Regions from separate parts of the Homo sapiens genome. Here region 1 is linked to region 2. The links are contacts of gene promoters, found by promoter capture Hi-C in blood cells and fetal thymus (Javierre and others, 2016). All regions are on one chromosome and are shown on one strand. Each heading gives the region's core, a stretch centred on a gene start or on the middle of the fragment in contact. The rest is flanking DNA. Distances are from core to core; before and after follow the strand shown.

The links. Contacts are between HindIII fragments. The CHiCAGO score rates a contact against its expected background, and 5 or more counts as called.
Region 1: a fragment that was not itself captured here is called in contact with the fragment with the promoter of AFG3L2 in region 2 in 1 of 17 cell types (naive CD8 T cells); the score reaches 6.4 in naive CD8 T cells.

The regions. Positions count from the first base shown.
Region 1 is chr18:13,742,578-13,749,174 of GRCh38, reverse strand. It overlaps RNMT (RNA guanine-7 methyltransferase), which reads right to left. Exons shown (of 12, transcript NM_003799.3): 8 at 6,523-6,597; 9 at 2,838-2,955. Among named protein-coding and RNA genes, the nearest start is that of RNMT, 19 kb to the right of the region's middle. The HindIII fragment of the contact is 922 bases long and covers 2,988-3,909 here.
Region 2 is chr18:12,374,160-12,380,091 of GRCh38, reverse strand. It overlaps AFG3L2 (AFG3 like matrix AAA peptidase subunit 2), which reads left to right and starts at 2,865. Exons shown (of 17, transcript NM_006796.3): 1 at 2,865-3,123. The coding sequence starts at 3,010. RefSeq lists enhancers at 1,567-2,096, 2,097-2,628 and a silencer at 2,401-3,300. The HindIII fragment of the contact is 9,454 bases long and covers 1,421-5,932 here.

The DNA.
Region 1 (6,597 bases), core at 2,199-4,698, 1.4 Mb before region 2:
GTTTCTCTTCTCTACTGATCATTTTGAAAGACCAACCAATACATGATTATAAAGCTGTAAAACATCGTTATTTTTTAAAATTGATTTTATTTTTTGAGATGGAGTTTCAGTTTCGTCACCCAGGCTGGAGTGCAGTGGCGTGATCTTCGCTCACTGCAACCTCCACCTCCCGGGTTCAAGTGATTCTCCTGCCTCAGCCTCCTGAGTAGCTGGGATTACAAGTATGCACCACCACACCTGGCTAATTTTGTATTTTTAGTAGAGACGGGGTTTTACCATGTTGGCCAGGCTGCTCTACAACTCCTGACCTCAGGTTATCTGCCCGCCTTGGCCTCCCAAAGTGCTGGGGTTACAGGCATGAGCCACCATGCCGGGACCAAAACTTATTAAAACATATATATCTTAGTGTCTCCTCTAAAAGGAGTTACTTTTCCAGAACTGTCCCTAGAATATGTTTGCTGGTGAAAAAAAGAAAACAGGTGTCAGGACCTACAGTTCCATGGCCTACATCTTTTCATTCTTTCTTCTCTCTGTTCCAACGCTCCAGGAAAGCAGAAAAGTTGTACTGGTTCTAGTGCTGAACCCAGATAAAAGCTGGATGCTTCAGGAAAAGACTTTTTGGGACAAATATCAAGAAACAGATCCATTTAAACCTCTGACCTGGTCGAAAGCAGTGGCATCCGACTGCTCTTTCCACCTCTGGTCTGGTCTCAAAGTCCCTCCAAACCATCCCCCATTATGCCACCCAAGTAGTGTCCTAACTCTTATCTGGTCATGTCCTTTCCTGCTCCAAGTCCTTTACACGCCCACCAGAGTGACTTGGTCAAGAAGTAGGAAAACCAAAGGATTTTTCAAACTACATGCTATTACTGCTTCTGTCCCCAGACAGCCATGGTAACAGGTCATATCCCCAAGTGCAGTACTGGGAGAGAAGGAAGACTGCTGAAGAACTGTGAAGGCCATTAGCACTACTTCCTCAAACATCTCCTGTGCACTCTGGTTTCTCTGCCTGTCCTCTACCAATCTTCTTCCTTCCCAAAAGGCCCTTTATATACTCACTGCACTTGGAATGCTTCAATACTGCAGTTCCCATCATGGACTGCATTATTCACTGAAATAACATGCCATAAAATTCTTGTTATCCCATACCCTACCATACCTAAGTAGATTTTGACATACATTACACAAGTGAATTCACTACCCATATGCTAAGAGAAAGGCTAAATAATTGACCACTATCATGCAAAGCACCATCAAATAAAGGCAATATGCTAAAGATATGCTGTATATGTGGGACAGGGGGACTTATCCACACATAGTTTTGCTAGTTTTCTCCTCTTCCTTAAGACAAACAAAACAAGCATCCATTCCTAATATAAAGCCAATAAAAACATTCTTAGATCTAAAGTATAGGAAATATAACTAATGAGGAATATGAAATTTTACTGATTATGTCTCTTAAAAGACAATTTAGAATTTATAAAAAGTCCTCCCACTCAACATTGTGGGAGTGGCTGGGTGCAGGTGCAACTTCAACAGGAGACTTCTGTTTGAGTATCATCTACAAAAACTGAAGAAAATCTAAAGGTTAGTATGCCTTGAGCAAGTCATTATCCTCTGAGCCTCAGGCTGCCCACTAAAAAAATGTGAAAACTGGCCAGGTGCAGTGGCTCACACCTGTAATCCCAGTACTTTGGGAGGCCAAGGCGGGAGGATTGCTTGATGAGGCCAGGAGTTTGAGACCAGCCTGCGCAACACAGCAAAACTTCATCAGCACAAAAAGTTTAAAACTGAGACAGGTGTGGTGACACACGCTTGTAGTCAGTTACTCAGGAGGCTCAGGTGGGAGGATCACCTTCCAGAAGGTGAAGGCCTCAGTGAGCTGTGATCACATCACTGCACTCCAGCCTGGGCAACAGAGCGAGATCCTGTCATTAACAACAAAAAAAAAAAAATAGGAAAAAAATTAGTGAAAAGTTACCATTCTGCCTACTTCATGGAGGTAATTATAAGGATAAAGAAGTCAGAGTATGCTTAAAGTACTTAAACTGAATAAACTCTCTAAGGAAGTTTAATGTCCATTTGATGAATATGATTCTACTGATCAATAATAAAAATGCTCACTGAATATTTTAGGTCTGTCCAACCAAACATTGTCTGGTAAGGAGAAAAAGGAAAAACAATCAATGGCTGTGTAATTGAAGCTTATATAGATACCTTCACTGCTGCATTAGGACAGGAGAGGTCTCAGCAACAACACAGTCTAAAAGACTGGAACCCTGCTAAAGAATTACCATGCAATAAAATTATGTATGGTTTGAGCTTGTCTGGACACTGGCCAGGAAGGTTCTAAATTACTGTCGTAACCAAAAGGCACTGTTGTAAAGAACTGGTTCTCAACTTGGGGCAATTTTGTCCACCAGGGGACATTTGGCAATGTCTGGAGAGAGTTTTCTGGTTATCGTAACTGGGGACAAGAGTGTTACTGGAAGGCATCTAGTGCGTAGAAGCCAGGAATGCTACTGAATATCCTACAATGCACAGCATCCCACAGCAAGGCATTATCCAGAACAAAATGTCAACAGTCCTGAGGCTGAGAAATCCTATTTTAAAGCAGTACTATCCTAGAAAACAGAATTTGGTAACACCAGTACTCATTCTTTCATCAAGTATTTACTGAGCACTCACCATGCAGTTTCTGTATCAAGCTCCGTCCTAGGTGCTGAAGAGCGTAATACACATAACTATTTCATGTTCAGATGGCCTTGCAAGGATCTCAAGAACAGCCAAACAAGTTCACCATGACTGAAATTTGTACATCTTTTCTAAATACTCACCTCCAAGGCCTGCATTCGTTTTAAGAGCATTTTATTTTCATTGTTCTTAATCTTTTCTTCGTAGAATTCCAGAAATGTTTTTTTGTAGACTAGTTTCATATTGTACTTCTTTGCCATTCTGTCCAAAAAAGAATACTTAATGAAAAAGCTTCCACATGTTTGTAATTCCTCAACTTACTTTTGTACAGCAATGACATCTTCTGGACTTAACTAAAAAAGCTACCACTCCCTTGATAAATTCACAATACAGTAATACAAAATGAATCAAGAGTAACATATCACACCTAAAAGAAACATGCATTCTAAATCTCAGGGGTTTCAGAGGGCTCTATTAGTATAACATAAAGGTCAGGAAGTAAATGAGAGTCTCCGGAGCTGTGAGATGCGGAAAAAGTGTAGGAAACTCTTTTCTACTGATTCCATTTCACTTTACTTGATCTCTCACAGCTGCACTGCAAACAGCTGCCAACTTCCTTCTTAAAGATTCACTTTCATCTCGACTTCTCTGGCAAGATACACTATTAATTTTTCCCCTACATCATGAACTGCTTCTTTGCAGGTTTTTTTTTTTTCCTTTTCACTTACAGGTTTTTTTTTACCCAACTTCTAAACTTCAAGGTTCTGTAGAGTACAGTCCAGAGCCCTACTCACTTCCACCCCCCAGCTATCGGTAGTTCAGCTGTCTCTCATCACTCATGGATTCTACTGCTTATTAGAAATCTTCACCTGCATGTGTCACTGGCACTCTCTAACGTCCCACATCTAAGGCTGAACATCACTGCTCTTTTACTGCCAATCTTTGCCATTTCAGTAAATCCACCTAGTGATCCATGCCATCTCCCCTTCTCTTTTACCCACTGTGCTCAATACACATCACTAAGTCCTTTCTATTTTACCTAGAAAACATCAATTTCAAATAGGTCCACTTCTTACCTCCTGCATTTGGCACCATCCTGCTGCTTCAGTCACCATCACCACTCAGTGGCACCAGTCCATAAACTCACTTTGCTTGTCCCCTGCTTCCATTCTTACTCTCCCTCAATGAATTTTCCAATCGCAGCCAGATTAAGCTTTCAGAAATGCGGACCTGAGTCATGTCACTACCCCCTTAACACCCTCCACTGGGCTCCAGTGCACTTAGGATACAGAACATGGTCTCGAAGACATTCATCTGTAAAGGAATGCTGCCTCATTTTGGGACAGCCCCCGATATAAATCAGGATGGGCCTTCTTTCAACATCTTGGACTAGCCTAGCTTTCCCACTGCTGGGCCCTCACACACGCTGTCCTCTTGTCAGGAGCATTCTTCCCTCCAGTCCTCAGCTGCCCACCTACTTTTCCATCCTTTAGATCCTGACTCAAACATCGATTCTTTACAGGCACCTTCCTTAAATCTTAATTATATTAGGTCTCTCCGTTAGACTCTCAGGTAGTTTTTTTCCTCACTGCATTTGCCAAGTTTATAATCATGTATCTGTAGACAACAAGAGGGAGCCTGGAGATGACTTCAGGCAGCAGTTAAAGGAAGAGTGGAAGGAAGGGGAGAAACCCTGAAAATTAGGTGGGAAGGCTCGTGTACAGGGTGGCATTTGAGGGGATAGGGTAAGGGCAAACACTGGAGGGCCACTGAGGTTTCTATGTAAGAGGTATACGTAAGGCAGGATTCTGTTACTTCAATTAATCCTCCTTGGAAAGGCAACATGAGCAAAATTAAGTCTTTTATTCCAGGCAGTTCATTTTCTTTTGTAAATCTCTAAAATAAGCCTTTAGAAATGAAACCAAGTTTTTTATTCCAGGCAGTTCATTTTCTTTTGTAAATCTCTAAAATAAGCCTTTAGAAATGAAACCAAGTTTTTTATTCCAGGCAGTTCATTTTCGTTTGTAAATCTCTAAAATAACCCTTTAGAAATGAAACCAAGTTTTACACCTAAAAAAATCATGATTCAAAGAATTGAGGCCCAATTTGAATAAGTTTTGCCACACAAAAAGCTTATTTCTGTTAAATTTCTTAATGAAATGGCAAAAAGGCATCTCAAAACCCCCACACATTTTCAGATTCTATTTCATCCAATACTGTTTCAATAAATAATCTTTTAAAAAATTAGATATTAAACTGATGACTTAGGTTTACCATCATTAGGCAATTTAAGTCAAAAAAAAAAAAAAAAAAAAAAAAAAGAAGACCGCTAGGTCTTGTTTAGCATTTAAAACAAATCTTTTGTTTTATTATCTTTTTGATTATACTAAAATCACCAAACTGTTAACTAAAATCTCAAGCTAACATATTAAACATACTCAATAACATTCCACAATTAAGTTCTTTTTTAAATAAAGTTGAAGAGCAGTAACATTTCCCCAGTTTATTAGTTTTAAAAATTAAAAGGAAAATGTAATTGATATTTTTAAATTTTGTAAATGGTTTATATTTATAAAATTATGCACAGTATTTTCCTCATGTTCAGTCACAATGCTACTTGGCTTTCTTATATTATTGAATAAGCTATTATAGAACTCCTGAAAATACTGTAACCCTAATTTTACAGACTGACTGAGTTACAATTAAAATAAGCACCAAGCAGAAGTAAGCAGACAATATACCTCTTCTTTTTCTCAGTTAATATTCAAAACAAAAGATTTTTGTTTCTAAAAAGTAGAAAATCAAGTTCAATCAATCATGACATGGCCTACATTTAAGCTGACTTTTATACTCTCCCCACCGGGGAAACTCTGGAAACCAAGGTGTATCACAAGGCCTTGAAGCCTTACCTGGTAAGGCCCAGTTACCCCCAGCTTTTCCTGTGTCTACAGTTTGCCAGGACTCCTAGGAATTCAGGCACATGGGAGAATACATTCCTGAATCAGGATTTTATCATCAACATTGCCTGTGAGACATAGGCAATTTCAAAGTTATAGTGAAATGCAAACAACTTTTAATACTCATCTCTGTCAAAAGGAGGATCTTTGATTTATTTATTTATTTATTTATTTATTTATTTATTTATTTATTTTTTTTTTGAGACGGAGTTTCGCTCTGTCGCCCAGGCTGGAGCGCAGTGGCGCGATCTCGACTCACTGCAAGCTCCGCCTCCCGGGTTCATGCCATTCTCCTGCCTCAGCCTCCCGAGTAGCTGGGACTACAGGCGCGCGCCACCATGCCCAGCTAATTTTTGTATTTTTAGTAGAGACGGGGTTTCACCGTGTCAGCCAGGATGGTCTCGATCTCCTGACCTCATGATCCGCCCGTCTCGGCCTCCCAAAGTGCTGGGATTACAGGCGTGAGCCACCGCGCCCGGCCGGATCTTTGATTTATGAAGACTCATTGTTTATCATCAAAGTTACCAGTAGTCACTAAAAAAAAAAAAAAAACTTTTGCTATTTGCAGTGTCAGGCATTTTGTGCCACAAGCTGAAGGCAACTGGTTCCCTTTTTCACCCACAGGATTAAAAAATTCCAGGAATGAGAGAAAACTAAGTTAGGCTATTATGAGACCTATGGCAATAATCCCCTAGATGTGAAGCTAGTCTTGTTTTGTTTTTTTTTTTTAAAAACACAAAAACAAAAAAACAAGATTATACTTTTTCTTTAGCCCTCATTTAAAATAAAGAGTAAAATAAATATTGCTTTTCCCCGCTTTTCTTTCCCTTAAGACAAAAAGAAAAGAGTGAACAGATTAATGACTTCTTACTCATTTAGCAATGGAAAATAGACCAAGAATTCAGGAACATCCACAACACCTTCCAAGTTGAAGTCATATTTGCAG
Region 2 (5,932 bases), core at 1,616-4,115:
GAGCTTTGGTAACTTGTATTTCACAAGGAATTTGTATAGTTCATTGTTCAAATTCATTGGCGTATATTCTATTTTCATTTTAATATATGTAGAATGTGAAGTCATGTCAACTTTCTCATTCTTGGTATTGGTAATTTGTGTCTTTTTTTTTTTTTTTTGAGATGGAGTCTCGCATTCCAGGCTAGAGTGCAGTGGCGCGATCTTGGCTCACTGCAATCTCTGACTCCCAGGTTCAAGTTATTCTCCTATCTCAGCCTCCCGAATAGCTGGGACTACAGGTGCTTGCCACCATGCCCGGCTAATTTTTGTATTTTTTTTTTTTTTAGTAGAGATGGGGTTTCTTTGTTCCTTTTTTTTTTTTTTTTTGAGATGGAATCTCGCTCTGTCACCCAGGCTGGAGTGCAGTGACACAATCTTGGCTCACTGCAACCTCCGCCTCCTGGGTTCAAGCGATTCTTCTGCTTCTGCCTCAGCCTCCTGAGTACCTGGGACTACAGGCGCACGCCACCACACCCAGCTAATTTTTGTATTTTTAGTAGAGACGGGGTTTCACCATATTGGCCAGGCTGGTATTGAACTCCTGAACTCGTGATCCGCCCACCTCAGCCTCCCAAAGTGCTGGGATTACAGGCGTGAGCCACCTTGCCCGGCCTCTCTCTCTCTTACTTTCTTTCTCTTTCTTTCTCTCTCTCTCTCTCCTTTCTTTCTCTCACTCTCTTTCCTTCCTTGTTTCTTTTTCTTTCTTTTTTTGGCCTGCTTGCTGGTCTCAAACTCCTGACCTCAGGTGATCTGCCTGCCTTGGCCTCCCAAAGTGTTGGGATTACAGGCATGAGCCACCGTGCTGGGCCAATTTGTGTCATTTTCTTTTTTCCTGATTGCTCTGACTATTGATCTTCTCAAAGAACACACTTTGATTTCATTCATTTCTCTATGTCTTTTAGTTTTTAATTTTATTGATTTTTACTTTTATCTTCTTTCTGTTCTTTGGTTTTACTTCATTTTCTGTCTAGTTTTTTCTTTTTTGAAGCCGAGGTCTTTGTTTTGCCCAGGCTTGTCTGGAACTCTTGGGCTCAAGTGATCCTCTCACCTCAGCCTATTTCTGATACTGATTTCTAATTTAATTTCATTGTGGATAGAAAATATGTTTTATATGACTTGACTCCTCTTAATATTTTTATGGCCTACAATATGGTTTATTTTGATAAGTGCTCTGTGAAAACTTGAAAATAATGTGTATTCTGTTGTTATGAGTAGTTTTCTATAAATGTCTATTTGATTTAGTTGGTTGTGTTTAAGTCTTCTATATACTTACTATTTTCCTGTCTAATTGTTCTGTCAATTATCAAAAGAAGGATTTGAAATCTCCAAATATAATTGGAAGTTGTGGTTCTGTCAGTCTTTGCTCCATGTATTTTAAGCTTCTGTTAATGGGAACAAAGATGTTTAGGGTTGTTATGTCCTACTGATGAACTGACCCCTTTATAATAATAATAATAATAATAATAATAATAATAATAATTCTCTTGGCCAGATGTGGGTGGCTCACATCTGTAATCCCAGCACTTTGGGAGGCTGAGTCAGGAGGATTGCTTAAAGCCAGGAGTTTGAGACTAGCCTGGGCAACAAAGTGAGACTTCAACTCTACACAAAATAAAAAAAGTCGAGTGTGGTCGAGCGTGTGTGGTCCCAGCTACTTGGGAGGCTGAGGCAGGAGGATCCCTTGAGCCCAGGAGTTAGAGGCTGCAGTGAGCTACGATTGCACCATGGCATTCCAGCCTAAGTGACAGACTGAGACCCTGTCTCTGGAAAAGAAACCCGATCCTCTTCATCCTTAGTGATATTCTTTTCCCTGCAATTAATTTTCTTTGGAATTTCCTTGCCCTAAAATCTATTTGTCTACTCAGTTTTCTTTTGTGTGAGCATGGTATGATGGTGTATCTGGTATATCTTTTTGTTATTGTTTTACTGCCACTGGGGTAATCACAGGACTCACCTGGTTTTGTCTCCTGTCTCTCAAGGATTACTGTCCTTTGCCTGAGGTCCAGCGTCGCCAGCCTGGGCGACAGAGCGAGAGCCCGTCTCAGAAAAACCCCCAAGTCCCCCACCTCAGTTCAAAGACCTCTCCTTTTTCCTCCGCTGTCACGGTACAGGAAACAATGTGTAGTTTCCACTACCTGGAAGACTCGACTTGCTCTCCGAGAACCAGTTCCCCGACAGGGTTCCTAGAGCGCAGGCTGCACGGCACAGCCCCAACATTCCCTGCTGCTTGTGAATCTTCGCATCGCCCTCCCAGGGGTCAGGAATGTGTGCTTCGGTGTCTCCAGAGCCTAGCACCACCCCATGACTCAGCTGGCGCTCGGAGGGTCCTTCCATCTGCCGCCGCTGGGGCCTTCGCTACTTCCCCCTCGCTCCTACTGGCTGGCCCACCCGGCTGCCCAGGCTCGGAAGCCCAGGATCCCAGTCACGCGTCTCCCCTTAGTCCCCGCCTCCAGCCACGCCCCCCACACCCCTCCGTCGGCCCCGCCTCCAGCTCCTGCTCGCTCTCCTAGTCCTTCCTCGGCCCCACCTCCAGCCACGCCCCCCACGTGCGCCATCAGCCCCGCCCCCAGCTCTCGCTCGCCCTCCCGAGTCCTCCCTCGGCCCGGTCCCCGCCTCTAGCTCCCCCTTGCCCTCCAGGGTCCTTCTCGGCCCCGCCTCCTGCCGCGCCCCCAACGCTGCTCCGTCGGCCCCCGCCTCCGGTCCCGCCCCCATGCTCCTCCCATTTGGTCCTGTCTTCTGCACTGGCGGAGGTCGCGGCGGGCCTCGGAGAGGAGACGCCGACGTCAGCGCGCCGGGGCGGGGCTGGCGGCAGGAGACGCCGCGTTGAGAGCTTGGGCTCCTCCGTGAGCCGCCGGCGCGCTTCGCTGCCTGGCGGCCTTTCCCCGAGCCGAGCCCGCTTCCCGAGGCCGCCAGTCGTCGCCTGCCCGCGCCTGCGCAGCGTCCCGGGCCGAGAGGGCCACGGCGGCGGCCATGGCGCACCGCTGTTTGCGGCTGTGGGGCCGGGGCGGCTGCTGGCCCCGCGGCCTACAGCAGCTCCTCGTGCCTGGCGGCGTGGGCCCGGGCGAGCAGCCCTGCCTCCGGACGGTGAGTCCTACCTGGGCGCCCGGCGCCCTCCACCCTGCCTCGGGCCCACTTCCGGCTCGGGAGAGCGGACGTCAAGGTCACTGGCCCCCGCCCTCCGGCCGCACGCGGGCCGTCCCTGCCGAGGGCCTGGGCGCCCTGCGCTGTCTCTCAGCCGGCCCCGGGAGCGCCGATTCGCGCTCAGCCCTGCCTGTGGGATTCAAGTTTTGAAAACGCGCAGCTTCAGTAGAGCCGGGTTTTCGCGCTTCACCGGGGCGGTTGAAGCCTCGAAGGTCATGTTGGCTTGGTGGCCGTCCTTGTCCCCGCTTTCGTGTCCCCGGAGCACGGAACGAAGGCGTCTGTAATTTTGAGTCAGCAGCACGAGCACGATGTAGTCGCAAGGACGGGTTTTGGAGTCGGGCTGCCTAACCTCTCCGAGTCTCCGTGTTCCCGTCTGTTGAATGGGGCCATTGCGGGCATTCCAGGACTGGCAGTATTAGCTATTATTATTAAGAATGTCACCTTTTCATAGCAGGGACTCTGTGTTCGTTGCATATCAGGGCCTGCTCTCAGCAGGAGGCTCTTTCTCTGTTGGTAGCCATCCCTCTAGATACACACACGGGACCTGATACGTGTTTCTGACATAATGATAGAGTGTTGACAGAACCATGGCCGTGATCAGTCTCAATGAAAGGTTCACGTGTCGAATAGTCGCTCTCACTGTTTAAGTGACACGGTTCCTCAGCCTTGCACTGGTGTACGGGTGGTGGTTGAGGTCCCCGGGTCGGCCACGGGAACCTGGCTTGGCCTCCTGCTATCCCAGCGCCCTTGTAGTCAGCTCAACGTCTTCACTGTAAGGGGAGATAGGCTAGTGCCGGGGCTCACGCCTGCGATCCCAGCACTTAGGGAGGCCGAGGCGGGAGAATCGCTTGACTCCAGGAGTTGGAAACCAGCTTGGGTAGGGTAGCAGACCCTCCGATCTACGATTTTTATTTTTATTTTTATTTTTTAAGAGACGGGGTTTTGCTTCTTCGCCCAGGCCGGAGTGCAGCGGCGCAAACACAGCTCACTGCAGCCCCAAACTCAAGCGATCCTCCCGCCTCAGCCTCCGGAGTATCTGGGACTACAGCACCGTGGTTGATTTTTAAAAAGTTTCTGGAGAGGCCAGGCGCGGTAGCTCACGGCTGTAATCCCAGCAGGCGGGTGGATCACGAGGTCAGAAAATCGAGATCATCCTGGCTAACACGGTGAAACCCCATCTCTACTAAAAATACAAAAAATTAGCCGGGCGTGGTGGCGGGCGCCTGTAGTCCCAGCTGCTCGGGAGACTGAGGCAGGGGAATGGCGTGAACCTGGGCGGTGGAGCTGGCAGTGAGCCAAGAGCGGGCCACTGCACTCTAGCCTGGGCGACAGAGCGAGACTCCGTCCCAAAAGATAGGGTTCACCATCTTGCCCAGTTGCCCAGGCTGGCCTGGAACTCCAGGACCCAGGCGATCCTCCCGCCTCCTCCTCTCAAAGTGTTGGAATTACAGACCTGAGCCACAGCTCCTGGCCTCTACAAATTGTTTTTTTTTTTTTTTTCTTACCTGGGCTCAGTGACTTATGACTATAGTCCCAGCAACTCGGGGGGCCAAGGCGGGTTGCTTGGCGCGGGAGGTTGAGGCTCCAGTGAGTTTTGATTGCATTGCTGTACTCCAGCGTGGGTGACGGACTCTGTCTCCTAAAAAAAAAAAGAGCGGGGGTGGGGAGGGGGAATAATAGTGCCTGCATTCATGATTTTTACTCCTTGAGGCTCCCTTGCCAGTCTTAAATCAATTTCTTCGCCATGGTCACGCCACGCTGCCGTGTGGTAGGTCCTTTTTCGGTTTCCTGTATCCATTTCCCTGTTTTACCAAGCTCTGATCCCTTTTCTTTTCTTTTCTTTTTTTTTTTTTTTTGAGACAGGGTCTCGCTCTGTCGCCCAGACTGGAGTGCAGTGGTGTGATTTTGGGTCACTGCAACCTTCGCCTCCAGGGTTCAAGCAATTCTCCTGCCTCAGCCTCCCGAGTAGCTGGGATTACAGGCGCCCGCCACTACGCCTGGCTAAATTTTGTATTTTTAGTAGAGATGGTGTTTCACCTTGTTGGCCAGGCTGGTCTCAAACTCCTGGCCTCAAGCAATCCATTTGGCCTCCCAAAGTGCTAGTATTACAGACGTGAGCCACCTTGCCCGGCCTGACTGCTTTTCTTTTGCTGCTCATGAATATTGGATTCAGACATACAGTTCCAGGTGGGGATCTGCATTGTGAGTTTGCAGTTTTATGTCAGAAGTGTTACCCAAAGGCTTTCCTTTTGAGTGACACTATTGTCCCTGTATCACTCAGATGCTGATGTATAAGGAAGTCCTCTGTGCTGACAGCTGTAGCTGATTGATTTGCGGAGGGTGTGGGGGTTCGCGGTCCTGATACATACTCTTTGGTACTCTCTGAAGATTTGCCTAGTGACACCTGGGCATTACTGTGCTGTGAGGGAGTCTGATAGGACAGGTTTTCCTTTATGTTCCTGCTACCCTTAAAGATCAGAGACAGAAGTACTGCTTTCACGGTGAGGAAGAGATTCTGATGTGTTGAGAGATGAGTTCTCAGGTGTGATGCCCAGAGGAATAAGACTGATGATAAAGCAACTGAAAAGTGCTCCTGTTGTCAAACATAAAGGCTAATTCTCCAAAATGCGGTGCTCTCAACTTAAATTTTGTGAATTAGTATCTCTTACATTATTCTTTGAATGCTAGACATGCAGATCTTGGATTACATATGCAGAGGAGAAGAAGTTTCATTGATGATTTCTTCATAGAA